Linked DNA regions of Homo sapiens: regions 1, 3 and 4 are each linked to region 2. Evidence: promoter capture Hi-C in human tissues and cell types (Jung and others, 2019). All regions are on one chromosome and are shown on one strand. The core of a region is centred on a gene start or on the middle of the fragment in contact, and the rest is flanking DNA. Distances in the headings are between cores, read along the strand shown.

What was found. The method cuts DNA at HindIII sites, captures the fragments that hold promoters and counts their contacts. A contact is called where the count stands out against the background at its distance.
Region 1: a fragment that was not itself captured here is called in contact with the fragment with the promoter of RNF168 in region 2 in 1 of the 25 tissues and cell types used here (mesenchymal stem cells).
Region 3: the fragment with the promoter of CEP19 here is called in contact with the fragment with the promoter of RNF168 in region 2 in 1 of the 25 tissues and cell types used here (ovary).
Region 4: a fragment that was not itself captured here is called in contact with the fragment with the promoter of RNF168 in region 2 in 6 of the 25 tissues and cell types used here (IMR-90 fibroblasts, aorta, dorsolateral prefrontal cortex and 3 more).

Annotation. Positions count from the first base shown.
Region 1 is chr3:196,651,717-196,654,812 of GRCh38, forward strand. NRROS (negative regulator of reactive oxygen species) reads left to right here. Exons shown (of 3, transcript NM_198565.3): 2 at 2,811-2,931. The coding sequence starts at 2,824. Among named protein-coding and RNA genes, the nearest start is that of NRROS, 14 kb to the left of the region's middle. The HindIII fragment of the contact is 5,100 bases long and covers 1-3,096 here.
Region 2 is chr3:196,502,315-196,505,598 of GRCh38, forward strand. RNF168 (ring finger protein 168) reads right to left here and starts at 1,454. Exons shown (of 6, transcript NM_152617.4): 1 at 559-1,454. The coding sequence starts at 859. LOC105374307 (a long non-coding RNA gene) reads left to right here and starts at 3,038. Exons shown (of 3, transcript XR_924897.3): 1 at 3,038-3,284. RefSeq lists enhancers at 1-248, 249-932, 584-653, 694-783 and a silencer at 1,404-1,703. The HindIII fragment of the contact is 9,103 bases long and covers 111-3,284 here.
Region 3 is chr3:196,710,384-196,713,591 of GRCh38, forward strand. CEP19 (centrosomal protein 19) reads right to left here and starts at 1,867. Exons shown (of 3, transcript NM_032898.5): 1 at 1,546-1,867. It overlaps PIGX (phosphatidylinositol glycan anchor biosynthesis class X), which reads left to right and starts at 1,994. Exons shown (of 6, transcript NM_017861.4): 1 at 1,994-2,261. The coding sequence starts at 2,150. RefSeq lists silencers at 1,617-1,929, 1,764-2,393. The HindIII fragment of the contact is 13,108 bases long and covers 1-3,208 here.
Region 4 is chr3:196,690,701-196,694,181 of GRCh38, forward strand. No RefSeq gene overlaps it. Among named protein-coding and RNA genes, the nearest start is that of CEP19, 20 kb to the right of the region's middle. The HindIII fragment of the contact is 6,798 bases long and covers 1-3,481 here.

The DNA of each region.
Region 1 (3,096 bases), core at 224-2,723, 150 kb after region 2:
GATCACAACATTGTACTCCAACCTGGGCAACAAGAGCAAAACTCCGTCTCAAAAAACAAAACAAAACGAACAAAAACAAAGAGGAGGAGGTGGTGTCACCAGAGCCTAGGGGTCAGCGGAAGAAACTCTAGGATGTCTCTGTCCAAGGCAGAGAGGAAGGGAGAGAAGTATGCTGGATTCTTTCTGCCCTCTACTGTCTGACCTCCCAGGAGGAGTGTCTTCCATTGACTAAACCAGCAGAGTTTGTGACAGGTGACAGCAGTTTGAGGCCAGGTGACAGCAGAGTTTGAGATTCAGAACCTTCAGAAGTCAGAGCCCTGCCACACTGAGGAGGGCAGGGAAGGGGAAGGCGCAGCTCTGGGGACAAACCGCTGTCAGCCAGCATAGTCATCTGTGCTCAGGGCTAGCCTTGCTCTGCAATTTATGAATGCAGAGTTTTTAATTGAACCTTCCTGCATATGTTTTACATATCTAGTTGGTATAATTCATCCTTCCAGCCACATTACTCAGGCCTTTATTTTAGACTTTGTGTAGCTGTTGAACTACCTTGGAGATTACACAGGAATAACCAGCACTCAGTCAACTCACTGGTGTTTGGAACTCACAAGTAATAATTAATAATTGTGTTACTTGCTACCTTTACAGCCATGAAGCCCTTTCACATTCATGAGACTGGTTATTCTCATGCAACTCTGGAATAGTTATTATTACTCCCATTTTGTAGACGGATTCTCTGAGTCTTGGAGACTTTGTCTGAATTCCTAAAGGACAAATAACAAATAACAGAGGCAGAATTCAAACTCTGGTCTGCTTGGTTCCAAATTCCATGATCTTCCCATGATATCCTGCTGCTTCCTGCCAGGGCCACAACAAGAGTTTTTTTCTGGGCTGGTTGGCTGAGTTTAGGAGGAAGGAGAGGATATGTTTTAAACTTGCAAAATTCTTGATGACCCATAAATTAAAATGCCCCTCCTGAGTGTGACACAAGGCCTGGCTTGCCTTCCAGTCTGAAGGTTGCCTTTTCGCTGAGGGACCTGCACTCTTGCCCCTTACACGTCTAGATTCAGTTCTTCGATACGCAGGGCTGGCTCTTCCAGAGAGACTGGAGTCACAGCAGCAGGTACCACCCCACACCTGACAAGAGGTGGCCAGGGAGGAAGGGAGGGTTCTTACCTCCCCATCTCCCCTCAGTAAAATTCAGGATGCCCAGTGAAGTTTGAATGTCAGATAAACAATTTGTTAGTATAAGGATGTATCTAGCATTGAAATGATGCCTTGTAATTTACTAAATCTGCAACTATGCAGCCTTATTTCATGGCGGGCAGTGGTGGTGATCCCAGGTTTCAGGGGCGGGGAAGGGTGCTGGGGGGATCCTGAGGTCAGGAACCCGTACACCTCTGCTTCTGCCCTCTCTTCCCTGTGCCGGCCACAAGGCAATGACTCCTGTGTGGGTGCAGAGGCAGAAATGGGTCTGGAAGGGGATTCCCAGTGTCTGGCAAGTTCTGGTAAATTCTGCATTGGAGGTTCTCTCTGTAGTAAGGGGAGTTGGCCTGGCCTGAAGTGAAAGCTGGCTTACCCGGTTTCATTGAGCTCTTCAATTAGTCTGTTTGCACTGGTGAGCATTCAAATCTGATCAAGAAGGTAAAATGAGCTTTCAAGATCCCTAAATGCATTTGAAGAAAGGAAAGAGGAGGCCCCTGAGTGGCTGGAGCGAGCAGGTGGGGTGAGCTGGTGCCGCTGGCCCAGGAGAAGATGGGAGGGCAGACACTGGGCCTCCGGTAGGTGTCAAGGAATGGGCAGATGGAATGCTGGGGCCAGCTCTTGCCTCTGGGTCTGCAGAATGCAGAGCTGGGGGCATGCACTGGGCGTCAGGTCCCCAGCAGGGCAGCAGTGAGTGCAGCCTCGCTGCTGGGAGAAACTGCCCTGCTCACTCATCGGAGCTCGGGGAGCGAGGCGGGGCTGCTCTTAGCCCTGCCACTAAGTTCATCCACAACCTCGAGTAGTATCTCTGGGCCTTTGTTCACCTGGCAAATGTGATGAGTATATTGCATTTCCCTTATGGCTCCCCTTAGTTCTGAATCTCTGCTGGTGCGTGTATACCTTCAAGCCTTCTCATTATTGCTGTTCTCTGTGCACTGGCCAGGCAAGCGGGCTGGCAACCACGTTTCGTTAACCACCTTTATTCTACCCAAAGATTGCTTCTTCATTTTCCCTCCGTGTTTCCCCCGTCCAAGCAAAATATCAAACCTCTTTTTTCAAAGGGTCATAGTCAAATGAGTGAACCAAAGAGATCAACGCTTTTGTAACAGCCCCACATCAGCAGCTGAGGAGTAACTCTGGGACAGAGGCCCCCATCCGTGTTTCCGTCTCCGTCCACTCTCCAGTTGTTCATTCATTCACTCAGCAAGTACTTACTGAGCTCAGGGGATGCATCAGACCGATTGGAGCTGGAGGCAGGAAAACTTCAGCAGAATTACAAAATATGGGAAACTCCAGGTGACTGGAGGCCTGGTTACTCAAGCTTTTTGCTTCTCCCTTCTGTGCTGGACTCGCTGAAGTTTAGTGTTCAGCCACCCGTCCATCAAGTGGTAGAGGCAAAATGAAATTGAGTTCTTGTCAACAGTTTCAGTGAAAGGCCGGAAGTCTTGGCTAAATGGAGGTATCTGAGTATCCTGTGGGCTGCACCTCTATGGAGCTCCACAGAGCTCCAAGACCACATAGAATTGGAACTGGCTCCTTCTGCCGATAATACAAACAGCCCTCTGGGATGTCCTTCTCTGACTTACCTCTTCCCTGCTCTCTGTCCACAGGGCTGCCCTTGAGATGGAGTTGCTGCCTCTTTGGCTCTGCCTGGGTTTTCACTTCCTGACCGTGGGCTGGAGGAACAGAAGCGGAACAGCCACAGCAGCCTCCCAAGGAGTCTGCAAGTTGGTGAGTTTCCCTTGAACCCTGATCTGTCGGCTGCTCCTGTCCTGACAAGGCTTGGTCCATTTGGAAAGCTGACAGATTGTCCATCAGGAAGGGCAGAGAATGAAGGAGCCTGCATCACTCTGTGCCTGCCTAGCACAGGGGCATGTGCAGCTGCCCTTTAACCAC
Region 2 (3,284 bases), core at 204-2,703:
GGTGGCTCAAGCCTGTAATCCCAGCATTTTGGCAGGCCGAGGCGGGCGGATCCCTTGAGGTCAGGAGTTTGAGATCAGCCTGGCCAACATGGTGAAATCCCGTCTCTACTAAAAAACAGAAAAATTCCCCGGGCGTGATGGTGCACGCGTGTAACCCCAGCTACTCGGGAGGCTGAGGCAGGAGAATCGCTTGAAACCGGGAGGCGGAGGTTGCAGGGAGCCGAGATCGCGCCACTGCACTCCAGCCTGGAGGACGGAGCGAGATCCTGTCTCAAAAAAAAAAAAAAGAAGGCTCCAGACGGGCAATTCTTTAATTTTTAACACAACAAACACCCATCGAACACAGCGCGGGCATTTTGACAATGGACAAAATCTTGCCCTTGACTTTATAATCCATCGACATTTGGGGACCCATAAACCCCCTAACCTCTGAGAACTATTTAGACAAATACTAGTCGGGTTTTTTGGTTTGTTTTTACTTTTTAAATGGAAAAGTGATGATTCACCTTTTCAAAGACTTGCGGCTTTTGGCCAACAAACACGCCATGGTTTACTCACCCACTTCCTCTGATTCTTGGCCAGACGCTCTAAGCTTGCACTCCCTGGGATAGTGTTTTTGAATTATCGTCCACAGTTCCACGTTGACGAGAGAATTTCTTCGGGTATGGTACCGAGTCCACGACGATACCCGGCGGCGACAGAAGGGACAGCATAAACTCGCCTTTTCGACGGTCGACTGGAAGCACGGTTTACACAGCGTGTGGTTACACGGGAGGGTGACGGGCTCCACGAGGATTTCCATGCAGATCCCGCACTGGCACTCGGACAGCGAGGGGATGGCGTCTTTGGGTAGAGCCATTTCAATATGTTAGTAAAGCCGACTAAACAACGACACCTGCACGAAAAAGAATCCTATTTTCGGCCAACCACAGAGAGAGCAAAAGCAGTTTTGTGTTTCAGTATTATGCCCAGAAGCGTATCAGAATTCGGAGAACAGGAGCATCCAACACGTCTTGAAGCAAAAAGGCGCTCTCAGGGTCAGGCAAACAGGAATACCCCGGAGGGCGGCGTCTTTGTCCATTTTCAAGGCAAACGTCCCGCCAGCAAATAAATGCAGGTTTTCGTCGGAGGAGCCTGGCTGCTCCGCGGCATGAACACCGCGGCTGCGGCTCCCGGGGCAGCGAGGGGAACGCGCCAAGTCCTCTCCTCCCCTCACCCGGAAAGGATGCTCCGCTCAGCTCGGGGCAGCCGGGCCCCGGGACGCGGCTCCGGGAGGAAGCCCGGGCTCCGGCTGCAGCATAACTTCCGCTTTACCGCTGCTGCGGGGGAGACGCGCGACTCCCGTGTTCACCTTTCGGGCGCCTGGCGCAGTTTCCCAGAGCTCCGCGCCCCCGTCCCTCCTACGCAGCCAGAAACCCTATTCGTTGCGGCAGCGCAGCAGCCACCGGACAAGCGCTAGCAACGTCACAACCGCCCGCCAAAATCGCACTTCCCACCCAGAAAACTGCCCAAGGGCGAACGTTCCCGGGGCGGGACTTCCGGGGTCTGCGCGCCGCCCGCCCTCCCTCCCAGCCGGAGACGGTCCCGCCCTGGCGTCGCAGCCCCGCCTAGTGCAGCCTGGGTGGAGCCTGACCTTTCCCTGAGATTTCTGCGAGGCCTCAGACACCCCTGGTTTCTTGGTTTCTGGGTAGAAAAAGGGAAACCTCAAAACAAAATCAACAGCCAAACAAGGCCGGGTGCGGTGGCTCACGCCTGTAATCCCAGCACTTCGGGAGGCCGAGGCGGGCGGATCACCTGAGGTCAGGAGTTCAAGACCAGCCTGGCCAACATGGTGAAACCCCCGTCCTTACTAAAAATACAAAAATTAGCTGGGCATTGTGACAAGCTCCTGCAATTCCAGCTACTCAGGAGGCTGAGACAGGAGAATCGCTAAACCTGGGAGGCAGAGGCTGCAGTGAGCCGAGATTGTGCCACTGCACTCCAGCCTGGGGGACAGAGCAAAATTCCACCTCAAAAAATACAAATAAATAAATAGATAAAAGAATTGGGGTCTCACTGTTTTATCCAGGCTGGACTACAACTCCAGGGTTCCAGGGATTCTTTCGCCTCAGCCTCTGGAGTAGCTGGGTCTAGAGCTTGCAACTCCATAGCCAGCTCCGGACCTGCATTTTTTGAGGGAATCAATCAGTGTGAAGGAAGAGAAAAGAAAATCACTGTGCGTGAAAGCAGCCTTTAAGTTGTTTTGAGGCTGCTGAGAGCATTCAGGCTGGGTAGGGGATGGTTTCCAGGTTGAGAACAACGAGGAGACATCGGTCGTTGGTAGAAGTCTTTGGGAACTTTCATTTCAATGTGGGTTCAGAAACCTGTTATTGTCTGTGATAGCTCACACCTGTAGTCCCAGCACTTTGGAAGGCCAAGGCGGGAAGATCAGTGGAGCCCAGGAGTTCAGGTCCAGCCTGGGCAACATAGTGAGACCCTGTCTCTACAAAAAATAAAAAAATTAACTCGGTGTGCTGGCTCACACTTATACTCTCAGCTACTCTGGTGGCTGAGGTGGGAGGATCACTTGAGCCCAGGAGGTCAAGGCTGCAGTGAACAGTGATCGTACCACTGCACCCCAGCCTGGGTGACAGGGCAAGACCCTGTCTCAAAAAAAAGAAAAAAAAAAGAAACCTGGGACTGTCATCTGGTTGTCTACAGTAACAGTACCTTAGCTTGGAATTTCAGGCTTGTTTTTTGTTCGTTTGTTTGTTTTTTTGAGATGGCTCCTCATTCTGTTGCCCAGGTTGGAGTGCAGTGGTTTGATCTCAGCTTACTGCAACCTCCACCTCCTGGGTTCAAGCGATTCTCATGCCTCAGCCTCCCGAGTAGCTGCAATTACAGGCGCGTGCCTTGTAATACCACGTGCATTGTAATACCACGCCTGGCAAATTTTTGTATTCTTAGTAGAGATGGGGTTTCACCATGTTGGCCATGCTGGTCTCGAACTCCTGACCTCAGGTGATCCACCGGCCTTGGCCTTCCAAAGTGCTGGGATTACAGGCGTGAGCCACTGCACCTGGCCTTCAGGCTTCCTAATATGTCCACAACCTGCTTTTCCCATCGAATCTCCCATTATTCTTTTAAACATGCAACTATGATTTATTCTCTGTCATCCAAACGTTTTGCTTTCATGACATTGCTTTCTCGGTTCATCCTAAATGGGTTGCTTTGTGGCTGTGCCTACTTCAAACACCAATTTAATGCAGTTGGGCCAGGCACGGTGGCTCATGCCTGTAATCCCA
Region 3 (3,208 bases), core at 617-3,116, 210 kb after region 2:
AAAATACAAAAATTAGCTGGACATAGTGGCAGGTGCCTGTAATCCCAGCTACTCGAGAGGCCAAGGCAGGAGAATCACTTGAACCTGGGAGGCGGAGGTTGCAGTGAGCTGAGATGGTACCACTGCACTCCAGCATGGGTGACAAGAGCAAGACTCCATCTCAAAAAGATGGAGGCAGGTGTGGTGGCTCAGGCCTGTAATCCCAACACTTTGGGAGGCCAAGGAGAGGAGATACCTTGAGGCCAGGAGTTTGAGACCAGCCTGGGCAACACAGCGAGACCATGCATGTCTCTACAAAAAATTTAAAAATTGGCCAGGCATGGCAGCATGCACCTGTAGTCCCAGCCACACCAAAGGCCAAGGTGGGAGAATCGCCTGAACCCAGGAGTTTGGGGCTGCAGTGAGTTGAGATGGTGCCACTGCACAACAGCCTCTCCAAAGCATGATACGCCTATTCTTAAAAAAAAAAAAAAAAAAAAAAAAAACTACTTTAAAAAATTACTGTGCTCTACCTCTAATCTGATGCAATGAGCTCACACCATTTCTCCTTCTTTTCCTTCTCTTTTCTTGCTTTTTTTTTTTTTTTAACGAATACTATTCCCAATTCACCTAACTAAAATTTGATGTTAGTAAACTACAACCTACGGGGCACATATAAACTCCACACACTGAAGCAATGGCTGTACTCGTCAAAGATGTATGCAGTTGGTACTCAAATAATGTAGTTTTTTTTTTACTAGACTCTTTTTAAAATTTAACTTTAATTTTTGCTAAAGTAATGTTTGTATTTGGAATATAAAATAATTCTATGAGGCTTATAACAACAAACTATCGTCCTTGGCCCTACTCCTCTTCATAGGGAGCCAGACTGAATTTTAAAAGGCATATCTTCCAAAATTTCTCTCTCCATTTCTTAAGAAACATGCTTATACTACCATTTTCAGTTTTTTTTTTTCTTTTGAAACAGAGTCTCCCTCTGTCGCCTAGGCTGCAGTGCAGTGGCGTGATCTCCCCTCGCTGCAACCTCCGCCTCCTGGGTTCAAGCGATTCTCGTGCCTCAGCCTCCCGAGTAGCTGGAATTACAGGTGCCTACCACCATGCCCAGCTAATCTTTGTATTTTCAGTAGAGACGGGGTTTCGCCATCTTGGCCAGGCTGGTCTCGAACTCCTGACCTCAGGTGATTCGCCCAAAGTGCTGGGGCTATAGGCGTGAGCCACCTGCCCGGCTATTTTCAGTTTTGGATAGTATGTTTTGACATACACTCTGTTTCCTCTTTGAGACACCCGCTCTAGAGCCCTCTATTCCACTCCAAGCCGCCTGGATGCTCTCTTGGCCTGCTTACAGATTCCACTCTGTTTAGGAAGAAGGACGGCACGTTTATCCAATTATTCTTCCTGGACACGAATACTCCTCTCCCCAGAGATCAGTAACTGCCCACAATCTTGTTAGGAAGCCCCACAGCACCTAAGGGTACGAATGTCCCCAAAGAGTAGACGATTCTCTCCCTACTCACGTCTCCACTAGTGCAAGGCTGGCTTTCTTACCCTTAGAGGAATACAGAAATGACATCGTCTGCAGGCCAACGTCTAAACAACCAGGAGTGGGTTTTTCCACCCAACCGCAGTGCACGCAAAGCCCCTAAGCCGACTGTGAGACCGGGCGGAGCCTGGCGCTGCAGGAAGAGGCGACAGCCACAGCCCTACTGACGAGCCCGAGGGGTGAACTCCCCGGCGGGAGGCCCGAACCCTCAAACACCGGGAAGCGGAGGTGGGGGCCGGCTGGGGGACCGGTCCACCGGCTCCCACCTCGGCGTACAGGGATTCCAGGTCCCGGCGAGCGCTGGCCTAGCGGTTTCCACAGCGACAGGCCGGGCGCGCGTCCCCGCGCGTGCGCAGCTCCTCGCCCGCCCCCGGGTGGGCGGAGCAAGGAACAGCTGGGCGGGGACGACCGCCCCACGCCGCGCGGGAACCCTTGGGGGCCGGGGCTGCAGGCAGCTGGGAACCGCGGGCGCTAGGCGCGCGCACCCAGCACTCGGTCCCAGCCGATAAATCTGGGGCAGCGCGCGGTAGGAGCTGCGGGCGGCCAGGCCCCTTCCTGCGTCCGCACCTGGCCCCGCGCGCCCCTCTCGGGCGTCCGGCTTCCGGCGTCCTGGCGGCTCGGGTGGCGGCGGTTCGGGCGGCCGCCTGGCTGCTCCTCGGGGCGGCGACCGGGCTCACGCGCGGGCCCGCCGCGGCCTTCACCGCCGCGCGCTCTGACGCCGGTAAGGGGGGCGGGGCTTGGGGGGCCAGAGCGTGGGAGCGGTCCCGGCTCCCGGGCCTCTCGGCGGGTTGCGGGGATGTGGGGACCCGGCGCGGGACCTAGATCAGTAGGGCGAGCCGGAGGAGGTCAGACACTAGAGCCGTGTGCCCTCCTTCCCTCCCGTGCGCTTTGCTCTGCGGCGGATCCCGGGTCTCCGGGAGAGTCGGGCTCGGGCCCTGCGGTTCCCAGGCTGGACTGGCCGCCCTGTTACTAAAGTTCTGAGAAGGAAAGTCAGCCGTCAAGCGTCTTGGGATGCTCTTGAGCTGCACGAAGCTTCTGATCACCAAGGGGCCAGGCAAGGCCTTAGCGCCCTGTGAGGCCTGAGAATCCCCAAACTGAATGTAGGACTCCGTGGCAAACTGCTAGTTGTTCGTGCAAGTAGTAGTTGGCAAACTGCTTGTACTACTGAGACGGGCAAGTGCGGGAATAATTACAATAAAGGGTAAGGTTTGATGGGAGGAAAGCACAAACCCTACAAGTTTCTCCATCTGTAAAATGAGGATGTTTCTGTCATCCTTGGTATCATTTAGATCCGTTTAGTATCTGTCAATCAGTGCAGTTCTGCTTGTGTGTTTACATATTGGGTTTTCAAGTTTATCTAAACAAAGGATTATGAGGCCAAGAAGATTTTTTTTTTGAGATGGAGTCTCACTCTGTTGCCAGGCTGGAGTGCAATGGCGCGATCTCGGCTCACTGCAACCTCCGCCTTTCCCAAGTTCAAGCAATTCTTCTGCTTCAGCCTCCCAAGTAGCTGGGATTATTACAGGTGCCCGCCACCATGCCCAGCTAATTTTTTGTATTTTTAGTAGAGACGGGGTTTCGCCGTATTGGTCAAGCTGGTCTTGAACTCCTGACCTCAGGTGGTCCACCCTCCTCAGCCTCCCAAAGTGCCAGGATTACAGGTGTGAA
Region 4 (3,481 bases), core at 103-2,602, 190 kb after region 2:
CAATTACCTCTAGAAAATTACCAGGCTTTACAGACTCAAGAGCTACTACCCAAAAGATTGAAAAAACTGCCTTAAAAAAAAAAAAAGCAACCCACCCCAGGGAAGAGAGAGAGCTATTTAGAAAACTCCAGAAGTAAATAAGCTCAGACAAATCTGAGATTTATCTGGTCTCTGCTCCTGAGTCCTGTCTGAGAATCAGGCACCTAAGAGACGGGGTGTTGTGTCCACCAGAGACGGTGGAGAGGCCGGGCACGGTGGCTCACACCTGTAATCCCAGCACTTCGGGAGGCCGAGGTGGGCAGATCACCTGAGGTCAGGAGTTCAAGACCAGCCTGGCCAAGGTGGTGAGACTCTGTCTCTTCTAAAAATACAAAAATTAGCCAGACTTGGTGGCGCACACCTGTAATCCCAGCTACTCGGGAGGCTGAGGCAGGAGAATCGCTTGAACCCGGGAGGCAGAGGATGCAGTAAGCCAAGATCACGCCATTGCACTCCAGCCTGGGTGACAGAGCGAGACTCCATCTCAAAAAAGAAAAGAGATAGCGAAGAAAGCCATCATCTCTGGTGGTTTGCAGGTTTGATTTTCATAGCAGAACCCTTAATGAAGATCTCAAGTAGAACTCTGAAATGGGAAAAACTTCAACATGTAAGAATTGAGCTGCTGTGGATAAATTAGGAGTCCAGTTCCCACCTCCTTATTCTTTTTATCACTCAGAACAATGACCACTTTTACACCCGACCCCAACCCTAGCTCCCCAGGATGCTGCTCCACAGAAGGCAGCTTGAAAAACGCCAATGGTTAACCTCTCTGGTGCCTTGCTGGGCTGCTGTAGGGACAGCGGGGTCACTGCTTCACAAAGTCACCCTTCCCGTTGCTGGCGGTTTTGATCTTCAGAGAGTTCTGTCTTTTCTTTTTTCTTCTTCTTCTTTTTTTTTTTTTTTCTGAGGCGGAGTTTTATGCTTTTCCCCCAGGCTAGAGTGTGCAATGGCGTGATCTGGGCTTGCTGCAACCTCTGTCTCCTGGGTTCAAGTGATTCTCCTGCCTCAGCCTCCCGAGTAACTGGAATTACAGGTGCACACAACCACGCCCAGCTAATTTTTGGATTTTTAGTAGAGACGGGGTTTCACCATGTTGGCCAGGCTAGTCTCGAACTCCTGACCTCAAGTGATCCACCCTCCTTGGCCTCCCAAAGTGCTGAGATTACAGGCGTGAGCCACCGCGCCTGGCCAGAAAGTTCTGTCTTTTCTTGAGGTGAGAGCTGCTCCCTAAATTTCCAATCACTGTGCCTAGTTTTTCCCTCTAGAAGTAGTAATATATTCTTCTACGTGAAAGATCTGTAAAGAACTAAAGAGCTTTAAGAGCAATCTTTTAACTTTTGCCTTTTCCAGGCAAAAATCTCATCACTTCTTGCAAAGGATTCTCATGTGACATGGTCACTCTCTGTGGGACACACTCCAGTTTGTCAACATCTTTTAAAATGAGGCTCCTGGAAGAAAACATGGCTCCAGACAGGATCTGATCAGGACCTTTCCCCCATCTGAGCACTAACCCTCAATTAATGTAGCGTAGGCTTACATTAGCTTTCTGGGCAGCCAGTCCACAGAGTGTTCATACTGCGACTGCTGCCAATTGGATGCCCTCTGTCTGTTTCACGTTGTTTTTAGGTTAACTGTTTCCTGTCCTGTGCTCTTGCAGTTGGCATTTCTTAATGCAAGTCATGGACTTTACTTGTGTCTCCATAATATCTTGTCCTGTAGGTGTTAGTCCAGTCACTCAAAATATTATAAAATACAGATCTTTTCCTTTTCTTTTTTTTTTTTTGAGATGGAGTTTTGCTCTTGTTGCCCAGGCTGGAGTGCAGTGGTGCAGTCTCAGCTCACTGCAACCTCCGCCTCCTGGGTTCAAGCAATTCTCCTGCCTCAGCCTCCCGAGTATCCAGGATTGCAGGCGTGCACCACCACGCCTGGCTAATTTTGTATTTTTAGTAGAGACGGGGTTCCACCATGTTGGCCAGGATGGTCTCCATCTCCTGACCTAGTGATCCACCCACCTCGGCCTCCCATAGTGCTGGGATTATAGGCATGAGCCACCACGCCCGGCTGGCAAAAGACTTTTTAAAAAAACTTTCACATATTGAACACTTACTCCATGACAGATGCTGTACTATGCATATGGTATCTAACTTCCTCCTTACGCTGGCCCAGTGGAAACAGGTATTAACGTCCCATTTTACAAATGAGAAAACTGGGGAAAGGAACAAAGATGAATGTATCCTGATTTCTGAGGGTCTTTTCGGCTGATGACTGAGCAGGGAGATGTTCTACACACACAGCCATTTAAGCCCCACCCAGCAGTCCTAAGGGAAGAGTTAGGCTCAGCACCGGATGAAAGGCTTGAACCACGGGAGCGAGAGCAGAAGAAAAACTCACTCCTGGTTCCTTCTCCCTAGGGTGACACCTCATCCACCTTTTGAAGAAAGTGGGGCCAGGCATAGGAATGGACCAAGAAAATGAAAAACAGTTAAAGCTGGATTTTAAAAATAAAGCTTATTGAGCATATAATGCTATAAAATGTGCTTGCTCATGCAGTTGTCTTGGATGTAAGACCCTGATATTTGGATACAGTGGCTTTATCAGGATGAAATATTTTTTCTTCCTTGACTTCCACCATGCCCAGTTAATTTTTTGTATTTTTAGTAGAGACGGGGTTTCACCGTGTTAGCCAGGATGGTCTCCATCTCCTGACCTCGTGAGCCGCTGGCCTCGGCCTCCCAAAGTGCTGGAATTACAGGCGTGAGCCACCACGCCCGGCCTTGACTTCCTTTTTTGGTTTTGCGGGAGGGAATGGATTGAGTGAAGGAGGAACCCCACACAGTCTACTCTATCTACACAGCATTTATGACCGTGTGATATTTTTCTTTTTCTTTTTTTTTGCCTATAGTTTCTTGTTGGAAAAAGACACGTTTTCTTGTTGACTGTTGCTCCCCGACAGAAATGTGAGCTCCACGAAAGAAAAGTCCTGGCTTTTCCTCTCTGTATACCTGTTACCCAGAACAGTGCTTGGCACCTGTGAAGTGCTTCAGACATATTCGATCAATAATTAAAGAATGGGTCTATGTATGGCACAGACAACCTAGCGTTTTTAAAAGATGATTTAAAAACAGTGTAAATTCTGAGCAAGGCTCACTCTAGATGTGGAGGTAGTCACGTTTAAATTACAAGAAAAAATTGCAGCCAGGCGTGGTGGCTCACGCCTGTAATCCCAACACTCTGGGAGGCCGAGGCGGGCGGTTCACTTGTGGTCAGGAGTTCAAGCCCAGCCTGACACTCCTCTAATCCCAACTACTCAGGAGGCTGAGGCAGGAGAATCGCTTGAACCCGGGAGGGGGAGGTTGCAGTGAGCCGAGACTGCTCCACTGCACTCCAGCCTGGGCAACAGAGCAAGATACCATCTCAAAAAATAAATAAATAAATAAAAATA